Linked DNA regions of Homo sapiens: all the other regions are linked to region 2. The links are contacts of gene promoters, found by promoter capture Hi-C in blood cells and fetal thymus (Javierre and others, 2016). All regions are on one chromosome and are shown on one strand. Each heading gives the region's core, a stretch centred on a gene start or on the middle of the fragment in contact. The rest is flanking DNA. Distances are from core to core; before and after follow the strand shown.

Evidence for each region. Contacts are between HindIII fragments. The CHiCAGO score rates a contact against its expected background, and 5 or more counts as called.
Region 1: a fragment that was not itself captured here is called in contact with the fragment with the promoter of IL2 in region 2 in 1 of 17 cell types (endothelial precursors); the score reaches 5.5 in endothelial precursors.
Region 3: a fragment that was not itself captured here is called in contact with the fragment with the promoter of IL2 in region 2 in 1 of 17 cell types (endothelial precursors); the score reaches 5.3 in endothelial precursors.

What each region holds. Positions count from the first base shown.
Region 1 is chr4:121,974,082-121,977,760 of GRCh38, reverse strand. All of the region lies in intron 1 of LOC102724158 (a long non-coding RNA gene), which reads right to left. Among named protein-coding and RNA genes, the nearest start is that of TRPC3, 24 kb to the right of the region's middle. The HindIII fragment of the contact is 248 bases long and covers 1,127-1,374 here.
Region 2 is chr4:122,454,459-122,458,132 of GRCh38, reverse strand. IL2 (interleukin 2) reads left to right here and starts at 1,408. Exons shown (of 4, transcript NM_000586.4): 1 at 1,408-1,839; 2 at 1,930-1,989. The coding sequence starts at 1,693. The HindIII fragment of the contact is 2,130 bases long and covers 633-2,762 here.
Region 3 is chr4:122,025,772-122,029,194 of GRCh38, reverse strand. No RefSeq gene overlaps it. Among named protein-coding and RNA genes, the nearest start is that of TRPC3, 75 kb to the right of the region's middle. The HindIII fragment of the contact is 1,046 bases long and covers 1,600-2,645 here.

The DNA of each region.
Region 1 (3,679 bases), core at 1-2,500, 480 kb after region 2:
ACTCCAGCGCCCTCAGGCATGCTTTCTCAGTCCTAGTGGACAATATAATTACTCTTATCTCCAGGAGGAGAGAGAGAGAGAGAGAGAGAGAGATTGAGAGAGGGAGAGAGAGAGAGAAGGAGAGAGAGAGAGAGAAGCTAGCTCCATCCACCGAGGGGCCCTTTCCTACCACTTTTATCACTCTCATTTTCACACTATAGTGTTGGGAAAACACTGGGGATCTGACATGCCTGTGCTTCGCCTCGTGTCCAGCACTTGAGAACCTTGTCTTCCTGCACGTCTACTACCAAAATCTGGCAACTTGCCATCCAGGGCACTCCTTGTGCTCTGAAGAAACACCCTTGGGCCATGTAGGGTTACCACTGCTGTTGCACTGGCCGTCCTTTCCTCCATGGGAGGGGGAAAGGAGAAGCTTCTCTACCTGCTGGCACAGGCAGCTGCCCTCATCCCCACCACTCACAATGTTGCCGTTCTTCACTTAAAAGGTTCCTCAAGTCTGTAGCATACCCATGGAGCCTTGACAACCCAAGGCATTGTGAGCAGTGTGCAAATAGCTCACTCCTGAGGGATTTCTTCTCAGCCTGTGTTGTAGGTGGAGCCCTCCATGCCATGTCACTCCATCCCTCACTGTCTGACTCGCATCCCCTTCCCAAGATCAAAGCTTCACATCACCATCAATTCCATTAAATGTGCCTTCCAAGTAATCATCTGAGTCCTTGGGACACATACCAGTTAAAGTGCCTTTAGTTGTATTTAAAAAAAAAACTCAAACTACATTAAGCAATAATGAAATTTGCTGGATGACATGATGTAACTAGAAACTTAGAGGTAGCACAGGCTCGAGGATGGCTTAATGCAGTAGCAAGCCCTATTTCTTTGTGATTCTTGGCTCTGTCTTCCTCTTTGTATCAACTTCATCCTCAAGGACAAAGGCGACCAGAGTAGCCTTAGTGTCTGAACCTACTGCCCACACATGACACATCCAGGAGAAGAGTGACAGGGTTGCTTCTGCATGCATTCCTGGAGTAGGAGGCAAAAAGATACCTCGAACCCCAGCAACATTTCCTCAGTGGCTGAAATGGAGACTCCCATTCCTGAGCCAATCCCTGACAAGGGGGAGAAAGCTTACCAACCAGACCCGTCCACTGGGAGTCACTTGGGCTTTCCATAGAGGGGTGTACACCTGAACAAAATTGGGTTGATAGAAATCACAAAAAAGAATGCTGAGCAGGCTATCACCACAACCACTAGAGAGGGATTTCATCTGTGCCTCAAAATAGCTGCCTTCTTTCTGAAGTGGTGATATAGAAAACCTCTCATATACATTGATTAAAATCTTAGATACAGCAATATTACCCATTTTTTTAAAAAGCTTTTAGAATCCTACAGTCATAATATTGAGCAAAAGAAGGCAGACACAAAAGAAGATATGTACTGTATGATTTCATTTATATAAAGTTCAAAAACACTGTATTGTATTAGAAATAAGAGGAGTAATGACTGAAAAAGGGCATGGAGAGGGATTCTGGACTAATGTTCTGTTCCTTGATTGATGCTAGTTATGGCAGAAGTTTTATTTGTTAAAATTCATTAAGCTGTACATACATGATTTATGAACTTTTGGAATGTATGGTCTACTTCAACTAAAAAGCTAAAAATAAATAATAGAATTATAGTGCAAAGTATTGTGCAAGCTGTGACAGATATTAAGATTAATAACACACAGTCTCTTCAAGATTCAAGGATGTTGTAGCTGAGCAGAGCAGTCACATAAGTCAATCATCCATTACTACACAGTGTTAGGATATGTTCTATGATGAGGAGCATGAGATCCAAGGTCGAGTAAGACTTCCCAGAAAGGATCACATGTTAAGTTGGAACAAACAAAATGTGTCGGTATGAATTTGCTTAGTGAGGAGTGAGGGGATTGTGCAAATGCATGGAGGTAACAGAGTACTTGAGAATAGTTCAGTGTGGCTGGGTCTGAGTGTCTAAGGAGAAGAGGAAACACAGAGGGTAGAGAGGTCAACAGGGGCCTTTTAGGTTATGTTAAGGAGGTGGACTTTATCCTGAAGGCAAAGGAAAGTCATAGAAGGGGAAGAAGGGGACTGCCATGATCCATCATCAGCCAAGAACACAGTTGGCATTCATAGTGAAGGGGCATCTGTGTGTCTAAGGACCGGAAATAATCTCCATGAAGAGGGTGAAAGGCATCAGGGCTTGGTTAAAAGAAATTCATGGGAAGCTAACTGGCCTGTAAGTCAGATGATTTAGACTCTTGCCCCCCTTTTCCTACAACTTAGATCTGTACCCTTAGACAAGGTGGAATGGGGAAGGGAAAAAACACTGTGGACTCTTTTCTCTAATTTGGTATAAGGACAGGGCAGGCACATCTACTTCATGTAATTTACTAATCTCATTGACTACATCCCCATGCCATAGCTATTCTCACCACAGTTTAAGAAGAGAACTCAGGCTTAGAATGACAGAGCTGAGATCCAAACCCAGGACTTCTGGGATCCTGGTGCTCTTCCTGCAGTATTCTGGGGAGGATCAAAATTCCCTCGTTTTTCGGCAAAGAAAAGAATTTGCCCTTGGTTACTTACAAGGTCTTTTCAGTTCCTTCCAAGATTCTATGCTTGGAATTGGGATGCAAACCCTTCATCCAGAGATTAAATAAGTGTGTTCTTAACACACTTCATTTGAAAATTCTTGGTCATAAATTATGTTCCCCTTTTTTATTTTTTATAAATAAAAGGATCATAGGCTTTCAGAGGCTTTTTTCTAAATTATACAGGAAACAAAATGTTACTTTAAGAGTAATTAGGGATCTAGAAGCTTTTTAAAGCCAGGTCTCTATATGCTAAAAAGCAATATATAACTAATTTCCATAAGTTGGGAAAAAATGGAAAAAAATTACCCCCACTGGACAGAATAATGGCTTTATATAACTACTTAAGCATGATGTATTGTGATTTTGTCATTAGAGTTGCTTTTAATTACCCCTTTTTTTCCTGATTCTTATGAACCTCACAAACTCATTCCATCATAAGCTGTCCAATGCAAGATAAAAATGTCATTGCTAGTGTCCTAGCATCCAATGTGATTGGTATTGAGCTTGATATATATTTGTTTATTTTTCTATTGCTGACATCAAATGAATACTCAATGACAGAAAAATCAATGTAATTTGACCTTTTGCTCTCTAGTAAAGGAAATAGCACTGTAACTTAATGGCTATATTCTATATCAATATCTATATCAATGTTTGAAAGATATACACTAAATTGTTAGTAGTAGTACCCATGAGGTAGAAGTGGTACTGTGGGAAAAGGGACTTACACTTTTAATCAAAATACTTTGATATTATTAGAATAATTTTTTAACAATTAAAATGTCTTCATATACTATAAATATAATTTTTAAAAGTAAAGAATACCACTTTCCCAGCTTTCAAAATTCTTAAGAAGTAAATCATTCTGAAAATTTGTGCAGGCCAATAATGACCGTATCTAATGAAATATTGTAATTAAGTAAACATAGCTATATGTTTTACCACCATTTTTAGCAGTAATAATAATGTTTTATGCTGGCAATCCTATTTTTAAGAAAGAATTTAAACTCTGTTGACAGAAGGGAGTATGATTAAAAAAAACCTATCAGAATATTCTCGGAGTGT
Region 2 (3,674 bases), core at 159-2,658:
CGAACATTACCTAACGCATAGAAAACTCTTATTGAACCATTTTTCTCTGTTCTTTGTAAAATATTACATTTGACTGTTCCTTAGACTGCTTTAATCATTCCTGCCTATGCACCCTCCTCAAAATCCAGTTTAAATTAATTGTTCCTTATTCAAGATTCCTTATATCCACCTCCCTTGGGGCAGCAATCACCTATCACCCAGGACTACACTTGTGTATGTACATATCTTCCCTATTACAAATCAGGTTCTTTGAAAAAATACAAATGGTAAGAGAGTGGATTTTTGGAGTCAGAACATTCTCTTTTCAAATCCTTCTTCTGCCCCTTACTGGCAATAAGGGCTGAGTGACCTAGAGCAAATTACTTAACTTCTCTGAGCCTCAGTTTTCTAATCTGCAAAATAGGAGCCATCACTTCACAAGTCTGTAAGACTTATATTAGACTAAGTGCCTGCCTGTACACTGTTCTCTTTTCTCTCTTTCTATATACCTGAAGGCATTATAGGTGCTAGATGTCTGTTTAAAGACCAGACAATATTGTCTTAAAAAAACAAACAAAAACACAGACAATACCATCTTTAAAAAAAAAAAAAAAGTCCAGGTAAGAAATAAATAAGGCCATAGAATGGAAGCTTTACAAGGACTCTCTCTGAGACAGGATCTCCTCAAGTGTCCCCAGGTTAAATTAGAAGTATATATCCGTACAATTGTTCAGCCAGTTTGTGCACTGTACTGAGGATGAATGAACACCTATCCTAAATATCCTAGTCTTCTGACTAAAAACAAGATCATATTTCATAACGATTATTGTTACATTCATAGTGTCCCAGGTGATTTAGAGGATAAATAAAAATCCATTAAAGAGGTAAAGACATAAAAACGAGAAACATGGACTGGTTTACACATAACACATACAAAGTCTATTATAAAACTAGCATCAGTATCCTTGAATGCAAACCTTTTTCTGAGTATTTAACAATCGCACCCTTTAAAAAATGTACAATAGACATTAAGAGACTTAAACAGATATATAATCATTTTAAATTAAAATAGCGTTAAACAGTACCTCAAGCTCAATAAGCATTTTAAGTATTCTAATCTTAGTATTTCTCTAGCTGACATGTAAGAAGCAATCTATCTTATTGTATGCAATTAGCTCATTGTGTGGATAAAAAGGTAAAACCATTCTGAAACAGGAAACCAATACACTTCCTGTTTTATCAACAAATCTAAACATTTATTCTTTTCATCTGTTTACTCTTGCTCTTGTCCACCACAATATGCTATTCACATGTTCAGTGTAGTTTTATGACAAAGAAAATTTTCTGAGTTACTTTTGTATCCCCACCCCCTTAAAGAAAGGAGGAAAAACTGTTTCATACAGAAGGCGTTAATTGCATGAATTAGAGCTATCACCTAAGTGTGGGCTAATGTAACAAAGAGGGATTTCACCTACATCCATTCAGTCAGTCTTTGGGGGTTTAAAGAAATTCCAAAGAGTCATCAGAAGAGGAAAAATGAAGGTAATGTTTTTTCAGACAGGTAAAGTCTTTGAAAATATGTGTAATATGTAAAACATTTTGACACCCCCATAATATTTTTCCAGAATTAACAGTATAAATTGCATCTCTTGTTCAAGAGTTCCCTATCACTCTCTTTAATCACTACTCACAGTAACCTCAACTCCTGCCACAATGTACAGGATGCAACTCCTGTCTTGCATTGCACTAAGTCTTGCACTTGTCACAAACAGTGCACCTACTTCAAGTTCTACAAAGAAAACACAGCTACAACTGGAGCATTTACTGCTGGATTTACAGATGATTTTGAATGGAATTAATGTAAGTATATTTCCTTTCTTACTAAAATTATTACATTTAGTAATCTAGCTGGAGATCATTTCTTAATAACAATGCATTATACTTTCTTAGAATTACAAGAATCCCAAACTCACCAGGATGCTCACATTTAAGTTTTACATGCCCAAGAAGGTAAGTACAATATTTTATGTTCAATTTCTGTTTTAATAAAATTCAAAGTAATATGAAAATTTGCACAGATGGGACTAATAGCAGCTCATCTGAGGTAAAGAGTAACTTTAATTTGTTTTTTTGAAAACCCAAGTTTGATAATGAAGCCTCTATTAAAACAGTTTTACCTATATTTTTAATATATATTTGTGTGTTGGTGGGGGTGGGAAGAAAACATAAAAATAATATTCTCACTTTATCGATAAGACAATTCTAAACAAAAATGTTCATTTATGGTTTCATTTAAAAATGTAAAACTCTAAAATATTTGATTATGTCATTTTAGTATGTAAAATACCAAAATCTATTTCCAAGGAGCCCACTTTTAAAAATCTTTTCTTGTTTTAGGAAAGGTTTCTAAGTGAGAGGCAGCATAACACTAATAGCACAGAGTCTGGGGCCAGATATCTGAAGTGAAATCTCAGCTCTGCCATGTCCTAGCTTTCATGATCTTTGGCAAATTACCTACTCTGTTTGTGATTCAGTTTCATGTCTACTTAAATGAATAACTGTATATACTTAATATGGCTTTGTGAGAATTAGTAAGTAAATGTAAAGCACTCAGAACCGTGTCTGGCATAAGGTAAATACCATACAAGCATTAGCTATTATTAGTAGTATTAAAGATAAAATTTTCACTGAGAAATACAAAGTAAAATTTTGGACTTTATCTTTTTACCAATAGAACTTGAGATTTATAATGCTATATGACTTATTTTCCAAGATTAAAAGCTTCATTAGGTTGTTTTTGGATTCAGATAGAGCATAAGCATAATCATCCAAGCTCCTAGGCTACATTAGGTGTGTAAAGCTACCTAGTAGCTGTGCCAGTTAAGAGAGAATGAACAAAATCTGGTGCCAGAAAGAGCTTGTGCCAGGGTGAATCCAAGCCCAGAAAATAATAGGATTTAAGGGGACACAGATGCAATCCCATTGACTCAAATTCTATTAATTCAAGAGAAATCTGCTTCTAACTACCCTTCTGAAAGATGTAAAGGAGACAGCTTACAGATGTTACTCTAGTTTAATCAGAGCCACATAATGCAACTCCAGCAACATAAAGATACTAGATGCTGTTTTCTGAAGAAAATTTCTCCACATTGTTCATGCCAAAAACTTAAACCCGAATTTGTAGAATTTGTAGTGGTGAATTGAAAGCGCAATAGATGGACATATCAGGGGATTGGTATTGTCTTGACCTACCTTTCCCACTAAAGAGTGTTAGAAAGATGAGATTATGTGCATAATTTAGGGGGTGGTAGAATTCATGGAAATCTAAGTTTGAAACCAAAAGTAATGATAAACTCTATTCATTTGTTCATTTAACCCTCATTGCACATTTACAAAAGATTTTAGAAACTAATAAAAATATTTGATTCCAAGGATGCTATGTTAATGCTATAATGAGAAAGAAATGAAATCTAATTCTGGCTCTACCTACTTATGTGGTCAAATTCTGAGATTTAGTGTGCTTATTTATAAAGTGGAGATGATACTTCACTGCCTACTTCAAAAGATGACTGTGAGAAGTAAATGGGCCTATTTTGGAGAAAATTCTTTTAAATTGTAATATACCATAGAAATATGAAATATTATATATAATATAGAATCAAGAGGCCTGTCCAAAAGTCCTCCCAAAGTATTAT
Region 3 (3,423 bases), core at 873-3,372, 430 kb after region 2:
TGGGTATATACCCAAAGGATTGTAAATCATTCTACTATAAAGACACATGCACATGTATGTTTATTGCGGCACTATTCACAATAGCAAAGACTTGGAACCAACCCAAATGCCTGTCAATGATAGACTGGATAAAGAAAATGTGGCGCATCTACACCATGGAATACTCTGCAACCATAAAGAAGGATTAGTTCATGTCCTTTGCAGGGACATGGATGAAGCTGGAAACCATCATTCTCAGCAAAGGAACAGAAAACCAAACACCGCATGTTCTCACTCATAGGTGGAAATTGAACAATGAGAACACATGGATACAGGGAGGGGAACATCACACACCAGGGCCTGTCAGGGGTCGGGGGCTAGGGGAGGGATAGCATTAGAAGAAATGCCTAATGTAGATGACAGGTTAATGGGTGCAGCAAACCACCATGGCTCTTTTATACCTATGTAACAAACCTGCGTGTTTTGCACATGTATCCCAGAACTTAAAGTATAATAAAAAAAATTCATGAAAAAAAAGAAAAGCAAAGGTTGGGGGAGGGTTTAGAAACCTAATAAATAAATATTAAGAAAATAGGCATAAATACTAAAAAAGCATAAGCAAAAGCCAAACATTGAATATGTAGATTATATGTTCAAAGACTTATTTAAAATAAGGATACACAGTCATAGAACGGATTGAAGAGAGCCTGAGATTGAAGGAGAGATAATAAGGAAAATCTGGGTAACCTGCTCCCCTGAGTGGACAACATCCATTTTAGCAATCAGGAAAACACTCATGTAATGTAATATGACCTAGTAGACTACATCTGGAATACTGCATCTAAATCTATATATCTGAAAGCTACATTTAAACATGTAGTCCAAAGTTGTTGCTAAAAACATGTTCTATTATTTTTCTATCATAGTACTAAAAACAAGTGCCAGAAAGTTGAAGAGAAAGGGAAAAGTTTAGCAAAAAACACAGGAATAGTTTAATGAATGTCAGGTTTAAATAGTATAATGAAAGGAAAGGAACTAAACACATTAGCTAGGAGAAACTTATTAGGGACTATTCACATGTCACTCTGAAGGTTATAAATACAAGGAAGAAGGAAAATAAATGGTGCCTGGAAAACATCAGAACTTGGTAAGCAAAGTAGAATAGAATAAGAAAAGATTCTCCTTTTAAAATTTTGATTATTTAATTTTGGATAGGAGGAAGATTATCTGAATGGAGAAATTCCGTGATAACTGGCGGAAGTTTTATTCCTTGAGATATTCTAAAAACTTCATAAAGGTAAACTCAGAAAGCCTAATGGTTGGGGAAATGACTGTATATGAAGATACGGTGAGAGAGAGTGTTTACGAGGTTCAGCTCTGACTTAGGTGTCTATGAGGAAAATTCAGGGGAATGGTACAGTGTTTCCCAAATCACTATTAACACAGTAAAATGTGTACCAGATGCATACCAATTGTGTGACATTGGGTACACTTTTTAAATAAATCCCCCCTTTTGAAAACTTTTTGAGGATAGGTTTGTGACCCCATTTGCTCAATAGACAGCCATCACTGTAGCTTCTATTTTAACATAGGTTCTAATACAGCTAATCTATCCAAGCTTTATACAATAAAGGCTTGAAAGAATAAAGTAATCCCCATCCTCAGTTGCAAAAATCTTGTGTTTCAGGCAAGCATTTGTTGTTGTTTTCCTATTACTGTGATTTAATGGCATGCCTGTGGGGTGCTGAATGCATTACGTAGAGTGCATTGATGATACAGTGAATGTTTTTGAGAGCTTTTGTGCTCTGGGTTATTTTCTAAGGTGTTATTTATGATTATAAGATGCTAATACAGTAATGAGAAATGTACAAAGCAGAGTGGAGAGTGCCTTTCTCTATATTCTTTCCAGTGCCTTGAATGCCGGCTTGCTGTGATTATAACATTTTGTCCTGTTTCCTTTTATCAACAATAGACTTTCAACACTGTGTAAATTTACATTTCATTTATTCTTTGTTTAATTCAATGAATGGAACACAACTATAAAATCCAAGGGACCCTCTGCCATTCCATACACTTGTCCAACTGGACGCTATTTTAGGCTGCTTCACAATATGTATAACTTTAGGGGAGGGAATGGGGGCTGGATAACTGGAGTGTATTGAATATAGAGGCAGCTACATTAATAAACACTTCTTAATACCATTGATTTTTTTCACAATAGCAAATGTTTTTATTTAGGCTGTCCATTTCCCTATGAAATAAGATTAAATGTTTCTCTCCCCCACCTAATTCTAACTTAATGGATGTGAACAATTTTTCTCCACAAATACAGAAATTCAAAATTCTAAGGAGGAAGAATAGAATAAGTTCTTTGGCACCACTTAAGAAGTTTGAAAGGCAGCAGTTAACTGACATGTGATTCCCATTCATCCACATCCTTGCACTAGGCTGGGCGCGGTGGCTCACTCCTGTAATCCCAGCACTTTGGGAGGCCGAGGTGGGCAGATCACGAGGTCAGGAGATCGAGACCATCCTGGCTAACATGGTGAAACCCTGTCTCTACTAAAAATACAAAAATATTAGCTGGGCGTGGTGGCGGGGTCCTGTAGTCCCAGCTACTTGGGAGGCTGAGGCAGGAGAATGGCATGAAACCGGGAGGCAAAGCTTGCAGTGAGCCGAGATCACGCCACTGCACTCCAGCCTGGGCGACAGAGCAAGACTCCGTCTCAAAAAAAAAAAAAATCTACATCCTTGCACCCAACCTCATTTTTTGCTGTTCACTGTCACACTCCCTTTGGTGAGATCAAATCAGATCAAAGCTACCAGATTGCATTCATTTCTACTTCTGCATCTTTGTTTGCATAATTCCCTTTTCCTCTCAGTTCTTAAAAAACTTAAATAATTTTTATTATGACATATTTCCAATGTACAGAAGAAAGCAGAAAATAAAATACATAATAACTGTATGTATGCATCTATCACCAACTTTAATAGACTTTAACATTTGGTCACACAGTCATGTGTCACATAATGAAAATTTGGTCAATGACAGACCACATATATGATGGTGGTCCGGTAAGACTATAACATCATATATCTTTCCTGTCACCTTTTCTATGTTTAGATACACACACACCATTGTGTTATAATTGCTTACAGTATTTAGTAGGCAATTCCTTGCAGATGCTGTATAGGTTTGTACCCTAGGAGCAATAGGCTATCCCATATAGCCTGGGTGTGTAGTAGGCTGTATCATCTAGGTTTGTATTAGTCCACTCTAAGACGTTTGCACAATGATGCAATTGCCTAACAATGTATTTATCAGAACGTGTCCCTGTTAAGTGACCAATGACTATACTTTGATCTCTCCACCTTTGTTTTTGTTTCGGTTTTTGGTTTTTGGTTTTTTTCTGAGACTGAGTCTCACTCTGTCACCCAGGCTGG